Linked DNA regions of Homo sapiens: region 1 is linked to region 2. Evidence: promoter capture Hi-C in 16 types of primary human blood cells and fetal thymus (Javierre and others, 2016). All regions are on one chromosome and are shown on one strand. The core of a region is centred on a gene start or on the middle of the fragment in contact, and the rest is flanking DNA. Distances in the headings are between cores, read along the strand shown. Region 1 has its middle 14 kb from the start of CREG1. Region 2 holds the start of GPA33-AS1 (GPA33 antisense RNA 1).

Region 1 (4,461 bases), core at 887-3,386, 520 kb before region 2:
CATTAGGACGAATACATAATGCACGCAGGGCTTAAAACCTAGATAACGGGTTGATGGGTGCAGCAAACCATCATGGCACATGTATACCTATGTAACAAACCTGCATGTTTTGTACATGTATCCTGGAACTTAAAGTAAAATAAACAATTAAAACCAAAACAAACAAATAAAAAAGAATGTGCCTGACATAACAGGAGTGTTGTGGGGATCACATGAAATTACACTGAGTAAAAATTCTATGGTGCTGTTTTATTGGGATCACTGGAATTGGATTGGAATTTCAAAACTGGAAGTTCCAATTCAGCAAAATTGGAAATTCAAAAAAGCTATGAACCTGTTTGTAAGAATATTCATCAAAAAGTAAAGTTCATAAATGTAAGTATAAATTCAGCGTAGTGAGCACAGGCACTGGGTCAGATGGAGGTGGATTTGAAAATAGTCTCCACCATGTATTTGCTCTGTGGCCTGAGAAAATCACATCAATAACATGGAGATAATAATACCTGTTTCAGAGGGTGATTGCAAGAATTACAATTAGATAGTATATCAAAGTAGGCTAGGCTATACTATGGTAACGAATAGTCCTTAAATCTCAGTGACTTCAAATAACAGGTTTATTGTTTATTTCCCACTCATAATACGTGTTTACTGTGGTCCCTGCAGACCAGCTTTGGTGGGAGAGGGATCTACTCTACACTGATCCAAGATACAAGTGGACAGAGCACCCACAATCTGGAACACAGCAACCTAGGGTAAGGGAAAGAGCCTTCTGGAGGGTCTGAATGGAAGTGATACATGTCATTTCCATTTAGATCTCAGTGGCCAGAACTAGTCATATGGCCCCACTAACCCTAAGTTGGCCCCCCTTGTGCCCAGAAGGCAGAGAGCCAGAAATATTGGGTGGACAGTATAATGCCTACCACAGATAGCACACATGATTACCTTTGGCACAAAATGCCCACTCAGATGTTCCTCCCACACACACAAACACAAATGTTATACACACACACACACACACACACACACACACACACACACCCTTTTTTTTTTTTTTTTGAAACAGTCTCATACTGTCACCCAGGCTGGAGAGCAGTGGCATGCTCACAGCTCCCTGCAGCCTTGATCTTCTGGGCTCAAGTGATCCTCCCACCTCAGTCTCCCTAGTAACTGGGACTACAGGTGTGTGCCACCATGTCCAGCTAATTTTTTTTTTTTTTGTATTTGTTGTAGAGATGGGGTTTCTCCTTGTTGCCCAGGCTGGTCTCAAACTCCCGGGCTCAAGTGACCCACCTACCTTGGCCTCCCAAAGTGCTGGGATTACAGGCGTGAGCCACTGTCCCCAGGCTTTCCTCCCTTTCTATGGAGGAATAAGATGAATTTAAGCAGTATGCTTGAAATTTATTTGATCAGCATATACTGAGTAACTACTTAAAGTTTCCCTTTGAAATTTTGTAAATGTGAAAGAGGGAGTTTTAAAATGGGCCCTAGAATTTATTTAAAAGAAGAAATATATTTCATTTAACAAAATGCTCAGAAAGCCATTTTATTGTGGAAAAATACTGCCATGCCTCGTTGGCTGTGCTAAGAGAAGACATTGAGCAAAATTATTGTACATATTAAAGGGAAAAGAATTTCAAGTTTCTTAAGGCAGCCTGGGAAGCTTTCTAGAATAGAGACTGAAACATTCAATTTTAAATAATCTGCCGTGGTACATGGCAATGTAACGCCTCCCCTAAATCTTCAACAAAAACCTGCTATGCTTTGGGTGAGCAGTGTTTGTTGCAGGGAAATTAAGGCAAAGTAGTGTTTGTTGGGTTAATTCAGGACAAGAAGCAGAGAAAGCTTCCAGCAAGATAAAAAATCTTGCAGAAAACTATTGTGAACAGCATATACCCCTGGGAATCCTCAGTTATTCTGTGGGGAAATGCTGAGTTTCCAAGCCCAGCATATGAAATATTTCCATTTAAATGTTAAAGGAAAAAGTGACACAACTAAACTAAAGGAAACGGGGCTCTCTAGGCTGCTAAGTTTTAAATAACTAGTATAGCCCTCCGATATTTGTGGGTTACTTTGTAGTTGGTTAGCATTTAAAAAATCATAGTTGAAACTGATTTCTTTGAGAAATGCTAGCCTCTTATTAAGCAAGTTCAGTATATAAAGTATTGAAATGAGTTCCCTGCAGAGACGTTGCTATTATAATACAGCAAGTCAGGCATCCATTTCCCTGTGCGGCTGAGACAGGAGCTGCTCCAGCCTTTCTTCCCGAGCATCCCTCTGTTCTCCTGATGAAGTCACTCCGTAACCCACAGCCCTCCAGGGCAGCTAAGCCAGCAATAAGAAAGGAGGTTAATTTACCTCTACCTGCCTCCTCCCAAAGAGAAAATCACATTTTTGAAATCCACATGAAACTTAGGGTCATAATAAGCTTATGTGTGAAGAATGTAGGTGGTTTGCGTTGTTTGTAGAACAAAACTAGGCTCTGCGAAGAGGTTGCAGTGAAATAAACATTTTATGGAGCCCTTCCTGCAGTGTTTTTTTTTTTGTTTGCTTTTTGGAGGTGGGGCCTACTAAAAATTTCTGTAACATGTCTGCTTTTAAAAACATTTGCCCATCTTTACCCATGAAGTATTGAGAGCGCTTATTGAGGGTTAAAGTGCTTATTAGTGGGAGTTGACCTCATGGCTGCATGGCCAGAGAAGCCCTGCAGTGGGAAGGGGCTGCCCTTGTCTTCCTGTCAGATCTTGAAGGCCTGGCCAGAGCATGTTACCCTCTTTAGGCATTTTTCTTTTTACTTTCAATAAGGGGTCAGGCTTTTAAAAACATTCTATGTCATCCTTAAGGAAAAAATAAAAACAAATTATTGTGAATGGCCAAGAAAGTCTATCAGGAAGGAAATAAAGTGGAGAGAAAAACAACCACAGGCTCTTTCACCAACTCTTGGAGAAGCAGGAAACATGGCAACATCAGGGCGAATTTTTACTCATCCTTGACCTCTGTCTGGAGAGGGGCAGTGACTCTACCTCCCACCCAGGACAGGATGCTGTGGTCGTGAGGAGGGCACCTCTGGGCACAGCACCTACCTGGGGCTATGCATTCCTTCTGACCCAGCCTCTCTGGCACCTGGGAGTGACTTGTGGAAAACAGGATGTCTGTTAGTCTACTCACTAAATGCTAGATCTTGAGCAAGGTCTGTAACCCCCAGGGGCTTCAGTTTCCTCAGCTGTAAGATGGGGCTGAGAAAAAGAGCTCGTAATCCCTTACCCAAGACCCTTGGGCCAAACGTGTCTCAGAATTCAGGATTTTCAGATCTGAGAAAGGTAAGAAGCTGCCCAGAAGTATCTATTTTATGTACTACACAGAAAAGAAAAGAATTTCACATTTCTTGAGGCAGCCTGGGAAACTTCCTAGAATAGAGAAAGTGGTGTCTGGAGCAGTACCTGCAATCGAATACACTGAGAGACACCGAAGGACCAAGAAGTTTCCACTGAGGCTGTGGCATGTCCTCGTCCTCCACAGCTGTTCTTCCACCCACTCTAACACGTGACCTTAGCCCCTAACTGCTCCTCCTCATCCCTCTTAATGAAATCCAAATTGCCTGAACAATGGTGGCTGATGTGCAAGAATTCCTCTCTCTTCTAAAATCCATCCCTCACCTACTATTCCTGAACTTCCTGAATTAAGGCTGACCCCCCTGCTAAGGCCCTATAACAGCAATAAAAACAACAACAACAAACAACAAACCCAAAAACCCTCCCTCCTCCCCCAAGGTATTTGAGAACACTCCTTTCAGGGACTGCTTCTGCCTGGCAGTCTGGATTAAAGTCTACGGTCATGGTGTTCCGGTTGCTTTTCCTCCACAACATTCATAGTTCTGCAGTGAAACATAGGAACACCTGCGGAGCACAGGATGGATAAAAAACATGAAGAGTCTCACCGAGGGAAGGTGTGCTGGCAAATGACTGTTTTCAGAGCTTTTTGAATTTTGGAAATGAGGATGTGAAATTGAGGACCTGTGGTATTATGTCGTAGAGTTGATGTGAAAATGAAGTGAGATAGTACATGAAAGTATTTGGAATAGTACTGGGCACACAGAGCTTGATAAATATTTGCCATGGTGATTATGCTGAGAGTTTTATGTAACCAAGGAGCTGTCACATTGGGGTTCAGACTCACAGGTGCACAGAGGGACCACAGCTTAGGACAACACCATGGGAGAGGGTATCCTCTCATCCCTGCACCCTGAAAAACTTTGCAATGGCAAGTTTCCAGCCATACCTGCATCTGGCTCTAGGCTGCCTGTTTCTGGAAGAGATCCTGTGCATCCTCAACAGCTCCACATACAGGCTCTGAATGCAGCCTCTCTGCAGAAGACTCCAGTTTCCCAGTTATCAAATGATTTATTTTTGTACAAGGCAATCGTAACTGACCCCATGGCTTGAAGAGCAGCCCAGAATTCTTGGG
Region 2 (4,593 bases), core at 1,140-3,639:
GGCGTGGTTGCAGCCCTCATTATCATTGGCATCATCATCTACTGCTGCTGCTGCCGAGGGAAGGACGACAACACTGAAGACAAGGAGGATGCAAGGCCGTGAGTGTCTGGGCTGGTAGCCTGTTGGAAGGGTCTGGGGAGACTGGAAATATGCTTCCCAATTCCTCACAGCCTCTTCTACTTGCAGCACCCCTTGGGGTATATCACCCCCATTTTGTGCTGATGAAACAATGACCTGTCCAAGCCATAAAATGTGCATTGCAGCCCCAGGACCTGCCTCCCAGTCCTGTGGTTTTCCAGTCTGGGAGCTCAGGGCCGGGCTTCCTGTGGCATGACTAGAGCCAAGTGTGGCCTGGAGCCCCTGTCACGGGGCCAGTTCCTCCTGGGCTGGTAAAGCCAGCCTGTTCCTGTAACCCCCTCAGCTCATGCGTGGAACAAGTCTGTGGCACCTTTACTCTCAGCCCAGCCTTTCAGCCCAGTGTCCTCTGCAGCTGGTGGGTGGGGAGGAGGTCTGGAGGCTGCTCTTCCTGTAATGCACATGAGGCCCAGCTCCCTTGAGGGTCCACCTGAGAGCAAATCCTTCCCCTCTGTCCCCTGCTGCCCTGCAGGAACCGGGAAGCCTATGAGGAGCCACCAGAGCAGCTAAGAGAACTTTCCAGAGAGAGGGAGGAGGAGGATGACTACAGGCAAGAAGAGCAGAGGAGCACTGGGCGTGAATCCCCGGACCACCTCGACCAGTGACAGGCCAGCAGCAGAGGGCGGCGGAGGAAGGGTTAGGGGTTCATTCTCCCGCTTCCTGGCCTCCCTTCTCCTTTCTAAGCCCTGTTCTCCTGTCCCTCCATCCCAGACATTGATGGGGACATTTCTTCCCCAGTGTCAGCTGTGGGGAACATGGCTGGCCTGGTAAGGGGGTCCCTGTGCTGATCCTGCTGACCTCACTGTCCTGTGAAGTAACCCCTCCTGGCTGTGACACCTGGTGCGGGCCTGGCCCTCACTCAAGACCAGGCTGCAGCCTCCACTTCCCTCGTAGTTGGCAGGAGCTCCTGGAAGCACAGCGCTGAGCATGGGGCGCTCCCACTCAGAACTCTCCAGGGAGGCGATGCCAGCCTTGGGGGGTGGGGGCTGTCCTGCTCACCTGTGTGCCCAGCACCTGGAGGGGCACCAGGTGGAGGGTTTGCACTCCACACATCTTTCTTGAATGAATGAAAGAATAAGTGAGTATGCTTGGGCCCTGCATTGGCCTGGCCTCCAGCTCCCACTCCCTTTCCAACCTCACTTCCCGTAGCTGCCAGTATGTTCCAAACCCTCCTGGGAAGGCCACCTCCCACTCCTGCTGCACAGGCCCTGGGGAGCTTTTGCCCACACACTTTCCATCTCTGCCTGTCAATATCGTACCTGTCCCTCCAGGCCCATCTCAAATCACAAGGATTTCTCTAACCCTATCCTAATTGTCCACATACGTGGAAACAATCCTGTTACTCTGTCCCACGTCCAATCATGGGCCACAAGGCACAGTCTTCTGAGCGAGTGCTCTCACTGTATTAGAGCGCCAGCTCCTTGGGGCAGGGCCTGGGCCTCATGGCTTTTGCTTTCCCTGAAGCCCTAGTAGCTGGCGCCCATCCTAGTGGGCACTTAAGCTTAATTGGGGAAACTGCTTTGATTGGTTGTGCCTTCCCTTCTCTGGTCTCCTTGAGATGATCGTAGACACAGGGATGATTCCCACCCAAACCCACGTATTCATTCAGTGAGTTAAACACGAATTGATTTAAAGTGAACACACACAAGGGAGCTTGCTTGCAGATGGTCTGAGTTCTTGTGTCCTGGTAATTCCTCTCCAGGCCAGAATAATTGGCATGTCTCCTCAACCCACATGGGGTTCCTGGTTGTTCCTGCATCCCGATACCTCAGCCCTGGCCCTGCCCAGCCCATTTGGGCTCTGGTTTTCTGGTGGGGCTGTCCTGCTGCCCTCCCACAGCCTCCTTCTGTTTGTCGAGCATTTCTTCTACTCTTGAGAGCTCAGGCAGCGTTAGGGCTGCTTAGGTCTCATGGACCAGTGGCTGGTCTCACCCAACTGCAGTTTACTATTGCTATCTTTTCTGGATGATCAGAAAAATAATTCCATAAATCTATTGTCTACTTGCGATTTTTTAAAAAATGTATATTTTTATATATATTGTTAAATCCTTTGCTTCATTCCAAATGCTTTCAGTAATAATAAAATTGTGGGTGGAAATTCTTATTTCTTTTTTAATGTGGATTTTGTTTGCAGTAAGATAAAGCTTGGGTCTCATGGATCATCTCTACTCACCATAGCACTCTTCTGCTTCCTAGGGGAGGTGAGACAAGGTAACAGATTTGAGAATCCTGGGGTCCCTCTGCTTGTGGCCGCAGTAGGGTCAGGCAGTGCCTCTAGTGGTTGCTGGGAATAGGACAGATTCCTGCCTGCTGGTGGAGGTATATTCCAGGAGTCTGCAGTGTCAGGACACCAGGAGGCCTGGGTGTCGGTCCACGTGCTTGAAGGAAGATGGTGGAGATGCTCTAGCCAGTTCTGCTTCCTATGATGCCCCTTCTGAGAAAGGGGCGGGGCAGTCCTCTTGTTCTGTCACAGAGAACTGTGACGCTTCCTCCTCCAAGGCAACTTCGCTCCGCTGTGGGCTCTTGGCTTTGACATGGACTCTCCTGCGAGATATTCAAGGTCTGTTCTTCAGTGTCCTTTCCTGTGCTCCCTCCTGTCCGAGCACTTGTCACACAGTACTGTGTGCCTATTATACCTGTGTACAGGTCTGTCTCTGCCTCACCCTGTATGATTTGTAAGGATAGGAACTGTAGCTTCTTTATGGCCTGGCATGTGTTGACCCTTGACAAAGGTTTGTTAAATGAATAACATTTGGTATCACAGTATCTTGCCCAAGGACATCTCCTAGCTCTCTAGATACTCTGAGGTGCCTTCCAGTCCTCACGGTGCAAGGTTCCACAAGCATGTTCTTGAGGGAGCCACGGAAGCAGAGGCGGCCACCTTCCCCCAGGTTTGACTTGACTTCTCTCTGCCCCTCAAAGGACTCTGAAGGTTCACCTGCCTTAGCTCCAGGCTTAGGGAAGAAAAGGAGGGAAATCGAGACCCACTGCATTAATTCAACAACAAATATTTTGTGAGCATCTACTACGTGCCAAGCAGTGTGCTGTTTGCAGAGTATATAAAAGTCACTAAGAAACTGTTATTCAGGAGGAGCTAAAATCTAATGGCGGTCACAGACATAGAAACATAATTACATGAGCAAGAGAAGGGGCTACAGGACACAGGAGGGCCTGAGTAACTCAGCCTAAGGGAGTTCAGGAAAGCTTCAGAGAGGAGGTTGCATTTGGGCTGCATCTTGAAGAAGAATGAGGAGTTTTACAAGTGGAAAAGGGCTGGTGCTGACATTTCTTCTGTCCTCCAATGCATGTTTCTATTACTTGGGTGTCAAATCATATTATCACTCAGTAAGACTACAGTTTCCTGCTGAATTTATTTCGGTCCACAGACTCTGGGAATTGGACTGTTGTAGGTTCTTATACAATCAAAATTAGCCCAGCAATGCAGTCTCCTTAGAATGTTAGGCATCCCTTCCCAAATTATGGTTTCCAGCTGCTGGTTCAAAGACTTTATGGTGTTTTAGAAGAGAGACAAATGCTACCCATTAATTGAGGGAAGATTGTGTACTATAAACCCTTATTAGGCACTTCAGACAGTTTTCCATATAATCCCCACTCGCAGTTTCAAATACTTGGGCATATGCCAATGTTAGGTGTTCATGTTATCACCTAAGGAGGGACTCTGGCTGCCCAGAGAGGAATCCATGAACTGATACACAGCTTGGTAAATTAGCCACTCTTCAGGATCTTGTTATTTATTTATTTATTTATTTTTAATTTTACTTTAAGTTCTGGGATACACGTGCAGGACGTGCAGGTTTGTTACATATGTATACATGTGCCATGGTGCACCTATCTACCCGTCATCTAGGTTTTAAGCCCCACATGCATTACATATTTGTCCTAATGCTCTCCCTCCCAAAAAGTCTTGTTCTTAAGCTGCTTTTGTGACACAGTGACAGGGCCTCAGCTCTCAAATGCAGAGTCACATTAACCAAGCTCACAGTGCCTGATGTACAATGCTTATAGCAGCAGCACTTGCTCTGGGCCAGGTACTGTTCTAGGCCTTTTCCATAGAACATCTCATAATCTTCACCCTATGAGATAAGTGCTATTATTCTTCCCATTTTACAGATGAGGAAGCTGAGACACAGTGAATTTAAGCAATTTGGATCAACACAGAATGTCAATTTGCTATTTATAGCTGTCAAGTAGACCAGCCTTTCTGTCCACCTGACCCAGGCCATCTCACCCCATGGGCACTATGCCCTCAGTTGCTTACTGGGCATGGAATCAGAATAAGAGAAGTCGGCTACTATCAAGGAGCTCTCATCTTTGATGGCAGTCTGTATCAGTAGGTGTCATATCCCCTGTGGAAATTCTGGAAGATTCTCTGGTCTTGGCTCCATCCCTGGATATTCTGGCTTGGGGCCCGGGGCATCTGCAGAAGTGATCCTATTGT

Evidence for each region. The method cuts DNA at HindIII sites, captures the fragments that hold promoters and counts their contacts. A CHiCAGO score of 5 or more calls a contact.
Region 1: a contact is called between a fragment that was not itself captured here and the fragment with the promoter of GPA33-AS1 in region 2, in 3 of 17 cell types (fetal thymus, total CD8 T cells and naive CD4 T cells). The highest score is 8.4, in fetal thymus.

What each region holds. Positions count from the first base shown.
Region 1 is chr1:167,565,683-167,570,143 of GRCh38, reverse strand. No RefSeq gene overlaps it. Among named protein-coding and RNA genes, the nearest start is that of CREG1, 14 kb to the right of the region's middle. The HindIII fragment of the contact is 583 bases long and covers 1,845-2,427 here.
Region 2 is chr1:167,050,481-167,055,073 of GRCh38, reverse strand. GPA33-AS1 (GPA33 antisense RNA 1) reads right to left here and starts at 2,389. Exons shown (of 6, transcript XR_922249.3): 1 at 2,308-2,389. It overlaps GPA33 (glycoprotein A33), which reads left to right. Exons shown (of 7, transcript NM_005814.3): 6 at 1-98; 7 at 608-2,238. The coding sequence ends at 740. The HindIII fragment of the contact is 1,060 bases long and covers 2,281-3,340 here.